Linked DNA regions of Homo sapiens: regions 1 and 2 are each linked to region 3. Evidence: promoter capture Hi-C in 16 types of primary human blood cells and fetal thymus (Javierre and others, 2016). All regions are on one chromosome and are shown on one strand. The core of a region is centred on a gene start or on the middle of the fragment in contact, and the rest is flanking DNA. Distances in the headings are between cores, read along the strand shown. Region 1 overlaps RAD50 (RAD50 double strand break repair protein). Region 2 holds the start of ZCCHC10 (zinc finger CCHC-type containing 10). Region 3 holds the start of SHROOM1 (shroom family member 1).

What was found. The method cuts DNA at HindIII sites, captures the fragments that hold promoters and counts their contacts. A CHiCAGO score of 5 or more calls a contact.
Region 1: a contact is called between a fragment that was not itself captured here and the fragment with the promoter of SHROOM1 in region 3, in 1 of 17 cell types (erythroblasts). The highest score is 5.5, in erythroblasts.
Region 2: a contact is called between the fragment with the promoter of ZCCHC10 here and the fragment with the promoter of SHROOM1 in region 3, in 3 of 17 cell types (naive CD8 T cells, erythroblasts and M0 macrophages). The highest score is 5.9, in naive CD8 T cells.

Annotation. Positions count from the first base shown.
Region 1 is chr5:132,584,859-132,588,758 of GRCh38, forward strand. RAD50 (RAD50 double strand break repair protein) reads left to right here. Exons shown (of 25, transcript NM_005732.4): 6 at 2,704-2,832; 7 at 3,066-3,231; 8 at 3,829-3,900. Among named protein-coding and RNA genes, the nearest start is that of RAD50, 30 kb to the left of the region's middle. The HindIII fragment of the contact is 780 bases long and covers 2,261-3,040 here.
Region 2 is chr5:133,023,940-133,027,958 of GRCh38, forward strand. ZCCHC10 (zinc finger CCHC-type containing 10) reads right to left here and starts at 2,610. Exons shown (of 5, transcript NM_001300816.3): 1 at 2,558-2,610. The coding sequence starts at 2,598. RefSeq lists an enhancer at 2,370-2,679 and a silencer at 2,760-2,889. The HindIII fragment of the contact is 6,187 bases long and covers 1,265-4,019 here.
Region 3 is chr5:132,828,991-132,832,599 of GRCh38, forward strand. SHROOM1 (shroom family member 1) reads right to left here and starts at 1,657. Exons shown (of 10, transcript NM_001172700.2): 1 at 1,604-1,657. RefSeq lists silencers at 1,026-1,335, 1,546-1,965. The HindIII fragment of the contact is 14,647 bases long and covers 1-3,609 here.

The DNA of each region.
Region 1 (3,900 bases), core at 1,401-3,900, 240 kb before region 3:
ACCGCATGTTCTCACTCATAGGTGGGAATTGAACAATGAGAACACTTGGACAGACACAGGAAGGGGAACATCACACACTGGGTCCTGTTGTGGGGTGGGGGGAGGGAGGAGGGATAGCATTAGGAGATACACCTAATGTAAATGACGAGTTAATGGGTGCAGCACACCAACATGGCACATGTATACATATGTAACAAACCTGCATGTTGTGCACATGTACCCTCGAACTTAAAGTATAATAAAAAGAAATAAGTTGTTTTCGGCTTTGGGTTGTTACAGATAAAACTGCTATAAACTTCTGTATACAGGTCTTTGGATAACTTTAGGACTCGGGTTGCTAGGTCGTGTGGTAAATATATGTTTAACCTTATAAGTTACCAGATGGCTGTACCATCTGGTACCACTTCATAGTCCTACCAACAATATACCAACAATTTATGGGAATGTAATTGCTCTGCATTCTCATCCCCACTTAGTACTGTCAGTCTTTTTCATTTTAGCCATAACAGTAGGGGTGTGGTAGTGTCTCATTGTGACATTGTGAGGTTGTATTTCTTTATATTTTTAATTTGTGTTTTCCTAGTTGATCAGTCAATTGATTATTGATTTTGAGCATCTTTTCATGTATTTATTTGCCACCTGAATATCTTCGTTAGTAAAATATAAAAGTCTTTTGCCTATTTTTCAATGTTATTTATTTATTGGTCATTTTATTATTGAGCTGTGAGAGTTCTTTTTTTTTTTTTTTTTTTTCTTGTTTTTTGAGACAGGGTCTCGCTGTCTTACCCAGGCCAGAGTGCAGTGGTGTGATCTTGGCTCACTGCAACCTCTGACTCCCAGGCTCAAGTGATCCTTCCACCTCAGTCTCCCACGTAGCTGGGACTACAGGCACACACTCACCACACCGGTGAGACTTGTAGAGGCAAGGTCTCACCAGGTTACCCAGGCTGGTCTCAAACTTCTGGGCTCAAGCAATCAGCCTGCCTCAGTCTCCCAAAGTGCTGGGATTACAGGTGTGAGCTACAGTGCCAGGCAGAGAGTTCTAAATATGTTCTGGATACAAGCCCTTTATCAGATATTGGTTTTGCAGATATTTCTTAACTGCTTTTCAGAGGACAGGAGTTTTAAATTTTGATCAGGTACAGTTTATAAACTTTTTTCTCTTATGGTTTATACTTTTTGTTTATTATTTAGGAAGTCTTTGACCCAGTGTCACAAAAATATTCTTCAGTGTTTTCCTCTAAAAGTTTTATAGTTTGAGTTCTTACAATTAAGTATATGCTTCATTTCAGAATCTTAATATGATATGAGGTAAAAGTTGAGGTTTACTTTCTTACATACAAATGTCCACTTCTTCTAGCACCCAGAGCCTAGTCATTATGATACCCTGCCTTCTAATCTTATTGTTATCTTGTCTCCCAATCTTAACTATACAATTTTGTACAAGTCAGTTAAGTCCTTTGAATTTCCTGCTTAGTATATACTTTTGTGAGGATTAGAGAGAATTTATAGCAGCACCTAGTACAGTGTCTGGAACATAGCAGACATTCAATCAGTGATACCTGTGACTGTTGCTCTTGGTAAAATTATTTTTTTCAAATCTCTCTTTCGTTTAGCTAACATTGAACACCTATTGCATGTTCTGGGGATACATTAGGGAACAAAGTAAACAAAGTTTCTGTTTTTAGGTTCATTTGTATATGAACGTTTACGTTCATATACAAATCACAAGCTATACTATTAGTATAATTTTAATAAATTATGTTAAAGTCGAGGATGCATTTTGGTGCAATTATGAAAGCTTGCAATTGCTGTCTAAGCATTCCAATAACTTCATATGTTAGTTTAAAATTAGGTTCTGCTGGGCATGGTGGTACATACTTATAGTCTCAGCTACTTGGAGGCTGAGGTGGGAGGAACACTTGAGCCCAGGAGTTCAAGTTGTATTGCACTGTTATTGCACCTGTGAATAGCCACTCCAGCCAGGGCAACATAGCAAGACCTTGTCTCTGCATTTGAAATAATAATAATAAAAGTAGGTTGTAAAAATGTCTTAGAAGAAGAGTTGGTCAGTTTTGGAATCATAGAGGCAAACACTAGAAGAATATCCCCAGCATCATCCAATAAGAGAATGCCCCGAACCAGATCCCAGTATTCCTGGGAGATGAGGCAACCAGCTGTCTCTGGAAGCGAGCCTCAGAGCAGGCCACTGAGCTCCCTTGTTGTACTTTACTTGCTCAGAGTCCTCTGTGGTTGAGCAAGCTTTGGATTAAAGTATACTCTTCATGTAAATTTGCCTATAGGCTCAGAATGCATTGGTAACTCACCATGAATTTCTAGCCTTCTCAGTAGTCCTGACTTAAAAAAATACATTAAATAGTTACCTTTTTAAGGATTAAGTAACTCTAAATGCCCAATGAATGAATAATGACTTTTGTGGCAGGTGTTGAGGACAGGACATGGTGTTTGGAGTTAGAAGTGGAATTTAATTCCTGCTTCTCTCTACTAGCTGTGAGGACTTGGGCCAAGTTACTTAATGTCTCTGAACTTCAGTTTCTCTAGGCCTGCTCTACAGTGTTATTGTTAGCCTTAAATGAGATCACTTTTACTAAATGCCTGGACCTGGAGTATCTTACTTGTCTTCATCTATCAGCCATGTAAGCTATAGTGAGTTTTATTTATGTAATGTTTCTTTATTTTCAGAATCGTCTAAAAGAAATTGAACATAATCTCTCTAAAATAATGAAACTTGACAATGAAATTAAAGCCTTGGATAGCCGAAAGAAGCAAATGGAGAAAGATAATAGTGAACTGGAAGAGAAAATGGAAAAGGTTTGTGGTGGTAGAATTTTGTTCTGCTTCAAAATTTTGGGATTATTGTAATGAACTTTATTTGAATCCATTTTGCCATCCACATTGGAAAAAAACAAATACAGATCTTGTTACTTCTATGTATATGTTAAAATGAAGGATATTGAATAAGGTTTGGTTTATATTTGATACCTCAAAGTGATCATATTTTCTTATGTTTGTACATTAAAGCTTTTTATTTTGGTGTTACACAGGTTTTTCAAGGGACTGATGAGCAACTAAATGACTTATATCACAATCACCAGAGAACAGTAAGGGAGAAAGAAAGGAAATTGGTAGACTGTCATCGTGAACTGGAAAAACTAAATAAAGAATCTAGGCTTCTCAATCAGGAAAAATCAGAACTGCTTGTTGAACAGGGTAGGACAAAATGTTTATTTGGTCGTTTTTCCTACTATGATGTTATACATTTTCTGTATGAATGAAGAATCTCCAAGGACTTATGCTGAGTGAAAAGCCAATCTTAAAAGGCTATACACAGTATGTTTCCATTTATATAACATTTTTATAATGTCAAAATTTTAGAAATAGTGGAGAAATTAGTGGTTGCCAGGGATACTGGGTAAGAGAAAGGACAGGAGGGAGCTAGGTATGGTTATGATTAGAACAAAAAGAGAGTCCTTGTAGTATTGGAACTGTTCAGTATCTTGACTGCCATAGTGGATATATGAACCGACACAGGTGATAAAATTATATAGAACTTAATATACACACATCCACATGCTCAGGGGTACAAATAAAATTGGGGAAATTTGAATAAGATTGATGAATTATATCAATATCAGTATTCTGGTTGTGATATTTTACTGCAGTTTTGCAAAATGTTATCATTGGGAGAAACTGGGCAAAATGTACAAGAGACACACTGCATTATTTTTTATAACTCGTGAATCTGCAGCTATCTCAACTTTTTAAGCACCAGTTGAAAAAAAAATTATGAGATTTTTTTTTTAAAAGGTCGTCTACAGCTGCAAGCAGATCGCCATCAAGAACATATCCGAGCTAGAGATTCATTAATTCAGTCTTTGG
Region 2 (4,019 bases), core at 1,360-3,859, 200 kb after region 3:
TCTCTTGGACTTCGCAAGCCTCTAAAGGCCCTCCTTTGCTGAATCCCTTGGAGACTTACACTCTGTATACCACAACACTTTTTATAATATGCCACATGTTTGCTTCCCAACAAGACCAGAAGCTCCTTAAAGGTAAGATTTGTCTTTTACAAATCATGTAACTCATGTACCAAATACAGACATATTGTAGATATAAAAATTTGTTTAACTTTTGATACTTCTGAAACAAGAAATAGCAGTATTATTCAGATGCTAAGTCTTATTTTCACTTCATATTTAAAGTGGACATTGGTTTTGCCAATCCTGCATTCATTTAACTCCTCTGACCTATCCACCCTGGTTATCATTGGCTTATGGTCATCCATTCAATTGTACTGAAAGGAGAATAAGATCTCTAAATCAATCAGAGCTTCACAATCCCACAGGCATGGTTTAGCACTGGGCATGTAATCCAATCTAGACCAAAGAACTGCAATCAACTTGAAGCTGAGAGAATAGATAGGACCCTGGATACTGCAGCCATCTTGGGAGCAAAGAATAGAGCCTATCCAAATATGGAGCCAACAACGAAAGAGCAAGCATGAGAGACAGACAGGGAGAAATGGGATCCTGGTGACATCATTTAGCACTCCCTTTAAGTATCACCATCCCATTTTTGATCTCAGAATTGTCTGACTTAATGGTGGGCGCAGTGGCTCATGCCTGTAATCCCAGTACTTTGGGAAGCTAAGGTGGGCAGATCACTTGACATCAGGAGTTCGAGACCAGCCTGACCAACATGGTGAAACCCCGTCTCTACTAAAAAATACAAAAATTAGCAGGGCATGGTGGCGGACGCCTGTAGTCCCAGCTAGTCGGGAGGCTGAGGCAGGAGAATCATTTGAACCAGGGAGGCAGAGGTTGCAGTGAGCCAAGATCGCACCACTGCATTCCAGCCTGGGCAACAGAGTGAGACTCCGTCTAAAAAAAAAACAAAAAAAACCTGTCTGACTTCGAGCCTTCTTCCTTCACCAAGCTTACTACTCTAACTCCCTAAGTCTGTCTGTACATTTGAGGAACTCTTCTTATCAGGCCTGAAAGGGTAGATGGAAAGGAGAAGAAAAAGGGATTATTTGAATTAAAAAATATAAAAAGATATACAGATAAACACACATACATATACTAGCAGACTCTGAGCTACATATAGACATGAAAATGGAGATGGCATGAAATATTTATGAAAAAGAGGCAGATGTCTGGATGTGCAAAGGCTGTTGGAAAAAAAAGCTTTATAAGAAAGGGGTTGCCGCGCGCGGTAGCTCACGCCTGTAATCCCAGCACTTTGGGAGGCCAAGGCGGGCGGATCTCGAGGTCAGGGGATCGAGACCATCCTGGCTAACACGGTGAAACCCCATCTCTACTAAAAATACAAAAAACCAGCCGGGCATGGTGGCGGGCGCCTGTAGTCCCAGCTACTCGGGAGGCTGAGGCAGGGGAACGGCGTGAACCCGGGGGGCGGAGCTTGCAGTGAGCCAAGATTGCACCTCTGCACTCCAGCCTGGGAGACAGAGCAAGACTCCGCCTCAAAAAAAAAAAAAAAAAAAAAAAAAAAAAAGAAAGGGGCATCTGGGGTGACCCTTGCATTATTTGTCAGCTATGAATCTCTTCTGCCACTCTCTCTTGTTCATTAGGCGTAATGGCTATCTTTCAGTTCTGTAAAAAGTAAGTTTCAGGCTCAAAGCAATTATGCCACTATCCGGATGCTCTTTCTCAAAATCCTCGTATGACTGTTCCTTTTTCATCCTTTAAATCTCTGTTCAAATTCCACCTCTTCAGAGATGCCTTTCCAGTCCAACCAACCTAAAGTGGGCCTTTCCCTCTTTCCATCACAACAGCTTACTTCCTTCAAAGCTGTTATCACCAGCTGTATTTACAATTTGTGGTTTATCGACTGTTTCCATCACTAGAATGTAAGCTCTCTGAAAGCAAGGATTTTGTCTTGAACACCTCTATTTATACCCAATGTCTGGCACAGAACGGTAGGAACTAAATAAATTAATATTTATTGAAAGAGAGAATGAGTAGCAAAAGGTGGTAAGATAGCCTGGGAAAGCAATCGGCATTGAAGGCAGGGTGTTCCTAAGGAAGGCGCTAGAATAAGGAAGTAGGAAAAGGCAGCTGGGCTGGACACTGAATAGGAAACTGAAGGTTTACGTCGGCTGGAATAAAGGTGTCGGACCGGGGCTTCAGGGCTCCCCTGTCCACGCGTGGGGTTGGCGGAGGGGCATAAATCACTGAGTGACCAACTGTGGGCGTTCCTTTCAGAGAAACCAAACGCGACAGTTGTCTTCAAACCCCGCTCTGTCCCGTGCCGCAGACTTTACGCGGCTGTCTTCCGCGAAATCGCTAACCCCCGGTCACCAGACTTATCGCCCGGGCCCGAGCCCCCCGGGAGCCAGAAGAGTGTTTGAGAAACGGACATTCTCCGCCGGTCCCAATAGGGGTCCGACACCAGCCCGTTGACGCGCGTTTCCCCGCTCCCAGCCCTCCAGTGGACCCGAACCGGATCCTTACTTACGCTTGTCTCCGGGCTATTAGCCGATGCATGGGAGTCGCCATCTTAGCGCGGTCAAAGCCGGCCGCGCAGGGTTTTGGGAAACTCCTCGGAAGGGCGGGGCTTCCAACCGGGAGGCCGTAGACGTAGGCGGGGCCAGACAGGCTTCTAAGGGGAGGTATCTTAGTGCCGGCTGGTGGGTCGGGAGGGGAGGGGCTGGAGGGTCGGGAGGGGAGGGGCTGGAGGGTCGGGAGGGGAGGGGCTGGAGGGGCTGGAGGGTCGGGACGGGAGGGACTGGTGGGTCGGGAGGGGCCGGTGTCTCCAGTATGGGTCTCGGGTTCTCGGGCCGAACAGGGTTTCAAAGGATGATTACAGGCAAGAACATTATCTGTGGAAAATGAGGACAACATTCTCGAACGAGGGATACACATACAAAGACAAAGAATGAAACTTTGGTGTTCAGAAAACTAGAAGTAGTCTGGAGAATAGAAAGGAATTAGTTGACCAGGATTGAGACCATCAATTGAAAGAATGACTTTAGCAAGCCATGGAGTGCAAACATATACGTTATTTCTGTTTTTTATGTATTTCACAGCGTTGTTACGAGTACTAAATGGGACTGTATAACTAAAGCTGCTTTATCAAGCAGAAAAGGACTATACAAATATTTTAGAATATTTTAGCTGCACCTACATCTAATGTCAGCTCACGGAGCTATTATTCTCTTAAAACCCACGTTCTCTGAAATATATATAATTTTCTGAAGTGTGTGTGTGTTTCTGGGTCATCCATATTTTTTCCTTTTTTTTTTAATTTGAGACAGAGTCTCGCTGTGTCGCCAGGCTGGAGTGCAGTGGCGCGATCTCGGCTCAGTGCAACCTCTGGGTCCCTGGTTCAAGAGATTCTCTTGTCTCACACTCCCGAATAGCTGGGATGACAAGCACGCGCCACCATGCCCAGCTAATTTTTGTATTTTTACTAGAGACAGGGTTTCACCATGTTGGCCAGGATGGTCTCGATCTCCTGACCTCATAATCCGCCCGCCTCGGCCTCCTAAAGTGCTGGGATTACAGGCGTGAGCCACCGCGCCCAGCCATATTTTTTCAATTAATAATTAACACTTAAAATGTTTTAGGAGCTGAGGACAGAGCATTTGAACAAATAAAATCCGTGTACACATGGAACTTTCTACAGACAATGAATGAAGACTATTCTCATGGGCATAAGTACTCTAACGAAAAATATTTCAGAGTAAGGGATTAAAGAGTGATTAGGAGTTAGGGAAGGTGATGATGTGACCTTTGAGCACAACTTGTTCTTCAAAAAAATAGGCTCTTACATGTTGTGTTCTCCAGCTTGATTTTTTCATTCCTCAGTGTACTTATGAAAATGTTTTCCCGGCCAGGCGCAGTGGCTCACGCCTGTAATCCCAGCACTTTCGGAGGCCGAGAAGGGCGGATCACCTGAGGTTGGGAGTTCAAGGCCA
Region 3 (3,609 bases), core at 407-2,906:
CTACCTTAGGGGTCCCTGCCTCAGTGGCAGTGGTACCTGTGGGCTGGGCTGTTATGCCTGTGCCGGCTGCTGAAAGGGAGTTCAGAGGTGGAGCTCAAGGAGCTCTGCAGGCATTTTGCCAAGCCTCTCCAGAGCAGAGGGAGCAACCTAGACTCCCCGCTAGAAAGACACCAGATTGGAGTCCTGGGAGGGGGAGTTGGGGTGGGCATTTGATGTATACTTGTCACCTGAATGAAGGAGCCAGAGAGGAAGGAGACGAAGATGAGATTGGCCTTCAAAGCTAGGGGTCTGGCAGGTGGAGGCACCAGTCTGAAAGGAGGAGCTGGGGCTGAGGAATTGTCAAGGGGGCCAGTGCTCCTTCAGTCTGGGCTTCATGGTGTCTGTGACAAGTCAGGCAGCAGTTGGGATGTGGCTCTGGAGTTCAGCAGGGGAGGGTAGACCAGGCAAGACCCAGGTTTTTAGTTAGAGGTTACTGGGGAAATAGCTGAAGACAGTTTCCGGTGGATAAAATCACACCAAGGCAATGGGAACAGATCCAAGTAAGGCGACCGAGGAGGCACAGGAGAACGGACAGCCTCAAATACAACGAATGATCAGGATTTACATCATACCTCCCTCAAGGCCACCTCACATCTGACCTCTCTGTGGAGGGGCTATCCAGGCCGCCCCTCCCAGCGGGTCTTCCCTCAGTACTGGGCTCACTGTGTAGGCGCTGTCTCCCTGTCAGACTGAGTTCCTGGGTACTGGACCACGTCTCAAAACCCAGTACCCGCAGCTGGGTCTGGCTAGGCGGACGTTCTGGGAAGTTCACCGGCTCTCCCTGTCCCCAGCGTCCCCCGTTCTCCCAGCCTGTCCGCGCTGACAGCGCACCCCACGCAGCATCCACGCTCCGAGTGTGCGACTGGTTTACGGGCTCATCGGTCGCTGCACCCCAGATGCAGAGTCTCTGGAGACCCGAGCTCCGTGCCATGCACAGGAAATGCAGGAAGCTGGCGACACCCGGGGAGAGGCGGCCGCGGGCGTGGACAGACCCGGTTACCTGGGGTTCAATCTCTGGGAGCCGAGGCACGGGAGGGAGAGAGGCGCAGGCCCCGGCGGCCGCAGGGGGCGGCAGAGACACGCGGAGCGGCTCGACAGCAGATGGCCGCAGCCCCGCGCAGTTCTGGGCCTTTCCCGTTGGGTTCACCGTCGGGGAAGGATCGCGCGCAGGGGACAGCGCGAGCCCGGGAGGGAAGGACCCGGCTTCTCCAGATGCTTGGCGACAAAGGGCAGGAGCGGAGGGTGGCGGAGTGAGACCGCGCTGCCCGCCGGCGCCACACGCGGCGCGCCCAGCCGCGCCCCTGAGCCGCGCCGCCAGCTTAGAGTGGGCCGCCTCTCCGCCCTGCAGCTCTGCAGCTGGGAGAGGCGCGCTGGGGTCCGACTCCACTGGCGCAACCTGACGCGGCGCCGAGCCAGACACGTCCCGGCCGAACGATGCCCGGGCTGCCCCGCGACCACCGCCTCGCCGCCCGCTCTTCACCCCCGTCCGCCCGCAGCCCCGCCGGCCTCCCGGGGGAAGCGGACCCAGCCGCCCGCTTCCCGCTCCCCCGCCCCCGCCGCGTACCTGAGGCTCCCGCCGAGACGCGCTCCTGGGCCGTCGCAGCCGCGCGGTGACATCAGAGCCCCGGGCTCTGACTCCGACCCCACCTCCAGGCTCCGGCCGCGGCCTCAGGGGAGGCGCCACGTCCGGCCGCGGGGGCGGGAGCCGCAGCCTCTTGGTAGCGTCCGCGCGCCGGCCCAGTCCCAGGTCTGAGGGTGGACAGTGCGTTCCCGCGCGGGCCACAGGCCTCTTGCCCCAGGCCGGAGAAACCTGAGCGAGGTGGTGGGAGGGCGACTACGGCGACCGCCCACCGGCCTCCAGCGCGTCCGTGATGCTCGGGGGCCGGGTCCCTCGGGGCCTGACACCTCCCTCGGTGGGGAGGTCCAGGGCGGGCCCTTAGGCGCCTGACGGCTACCCGCTTTCCCCCCCAAGCCCGGCCAAGAAAACAGAGCTGCCAGGGCCTCGTGCCTCCCACCTGTCCCGCTGAGTAACTCGGCCCTTGATCAACTCTACCCCCAGACCCCCATTTCCAAAACTCTTCCAGCTCTTTGACTCCCACCATGGGCTCTTGTCTCCTGTTCCCTGTCCCATTTCTTTCCATTTCTCCCACTACCCAGCATGGTCTGGGCCCTCCAGCCTGCTACCGGGGTGGGGGAGAGGGGGGCGGAGCACGGGGAAGCCCCTGGACTTGTGTGCACCTTAGCTGTCCTGAGTGTGTCCTTAGGGAGCTGGACATATGCATACCCACTAAGGCTGGACACTGGCGCTCGAGGCCCTCACCTTCCAGGATCTCCATTTTCCAAAGAACGCTCTGCCTGCACCTGCCACTGAGCTCTCCTTGCTGTGTCCTCAGGCTCCCCTGCCCCGACTTCCCAAACTCTGTCCTATGAATACCACTCTGCCAAGAAATGCTCCGTTCCTGAGAGGGGCTGGGGACCCTTTGATGAGCCTCTCCGGCTCTCAGGTCTCTGCCTTTGTCCTCCGCTGCCCTCCCGCTCCCACAGGATCAACAGGGCTGGGCTCAGGGGCTGTGTCCTCCCATGGTAGTATCCCTGGCAAATAAAGGTTTATTGGTGTTAATAACCAGGACTCTGAACTCTGGCCAAGAGTCAAGGTTGCCACTTCCTAGGGACACTGGGAGCCTGAGGAACTCTGTCTTCTTGGGTCTTCTTGGGTTCGGAGGCAGGAGACACCTGAGCCCGACTTCTGAGAGTGGTGCCCGCTGGGCCCTGCTCCTTCTTCAACACCATCTGGACTCAGGCACCAGCTTCAGCTGGAGCGCTAGGCTTTAAGACAGTGCCTAAGAACCTTTCGGCTTTGAAAGACTTTTGTTGTTTGTTTTGCTTTTTTGAGACAGAGTCTCCCTCTGTCGCCCAGGCTGGAGTGCAGTGGCCGGATCTCTGCTCACTGAAACCTGCGCCTCCCAGGTTCAAGCAATTTTCCCTGCCTCAGCCTCCCAAGTAGCTGGGATTACAGGCACCGGGCACCACGCCCAGCTAATTTTTGTATTTTTAGTAAAGACGGGGTTCGCCATGTTGGCCAGGCTGGTCTCAAACTCGTGACCTCAGGTGATCCACCCACCTTGGCCTCCCAAAGTGCTGGATTACAGGCATGAGCTACCGCACCCGGCCTGAAAGACTTTTAATATTTTTAAGACCCTGATCCACAGAGTCTCACAGCAGCATCAAAATAGAAGAAAGACAGCCCAGCAAACAACAACAAAAAATTTTTAATTGCTCATGTTGGCTGGGGCGGTGGCTCATGCCTGTAATCCCAGCACTTTGGGAGGCCAAGGTGGGCAGATTGCTTGAGCTCAGGAGTTCGAGACCAGCCTCGGCAACATGGCGAAGCCCTGTCTCTACAAAAATACAAAAAAAAATAGCTGGACGTGGTGGCACGCACCTGTAGTCCCAGCTACTTGGAAGGCCTAGGCACAAGAATCGCTTGAACCGAGGAGGCATAGGCTGCAGTCTGCCGAGATCACGCTACTTCATTCCAGCCTGGGCAACAGAGTGAGATTCTGTCTCAAA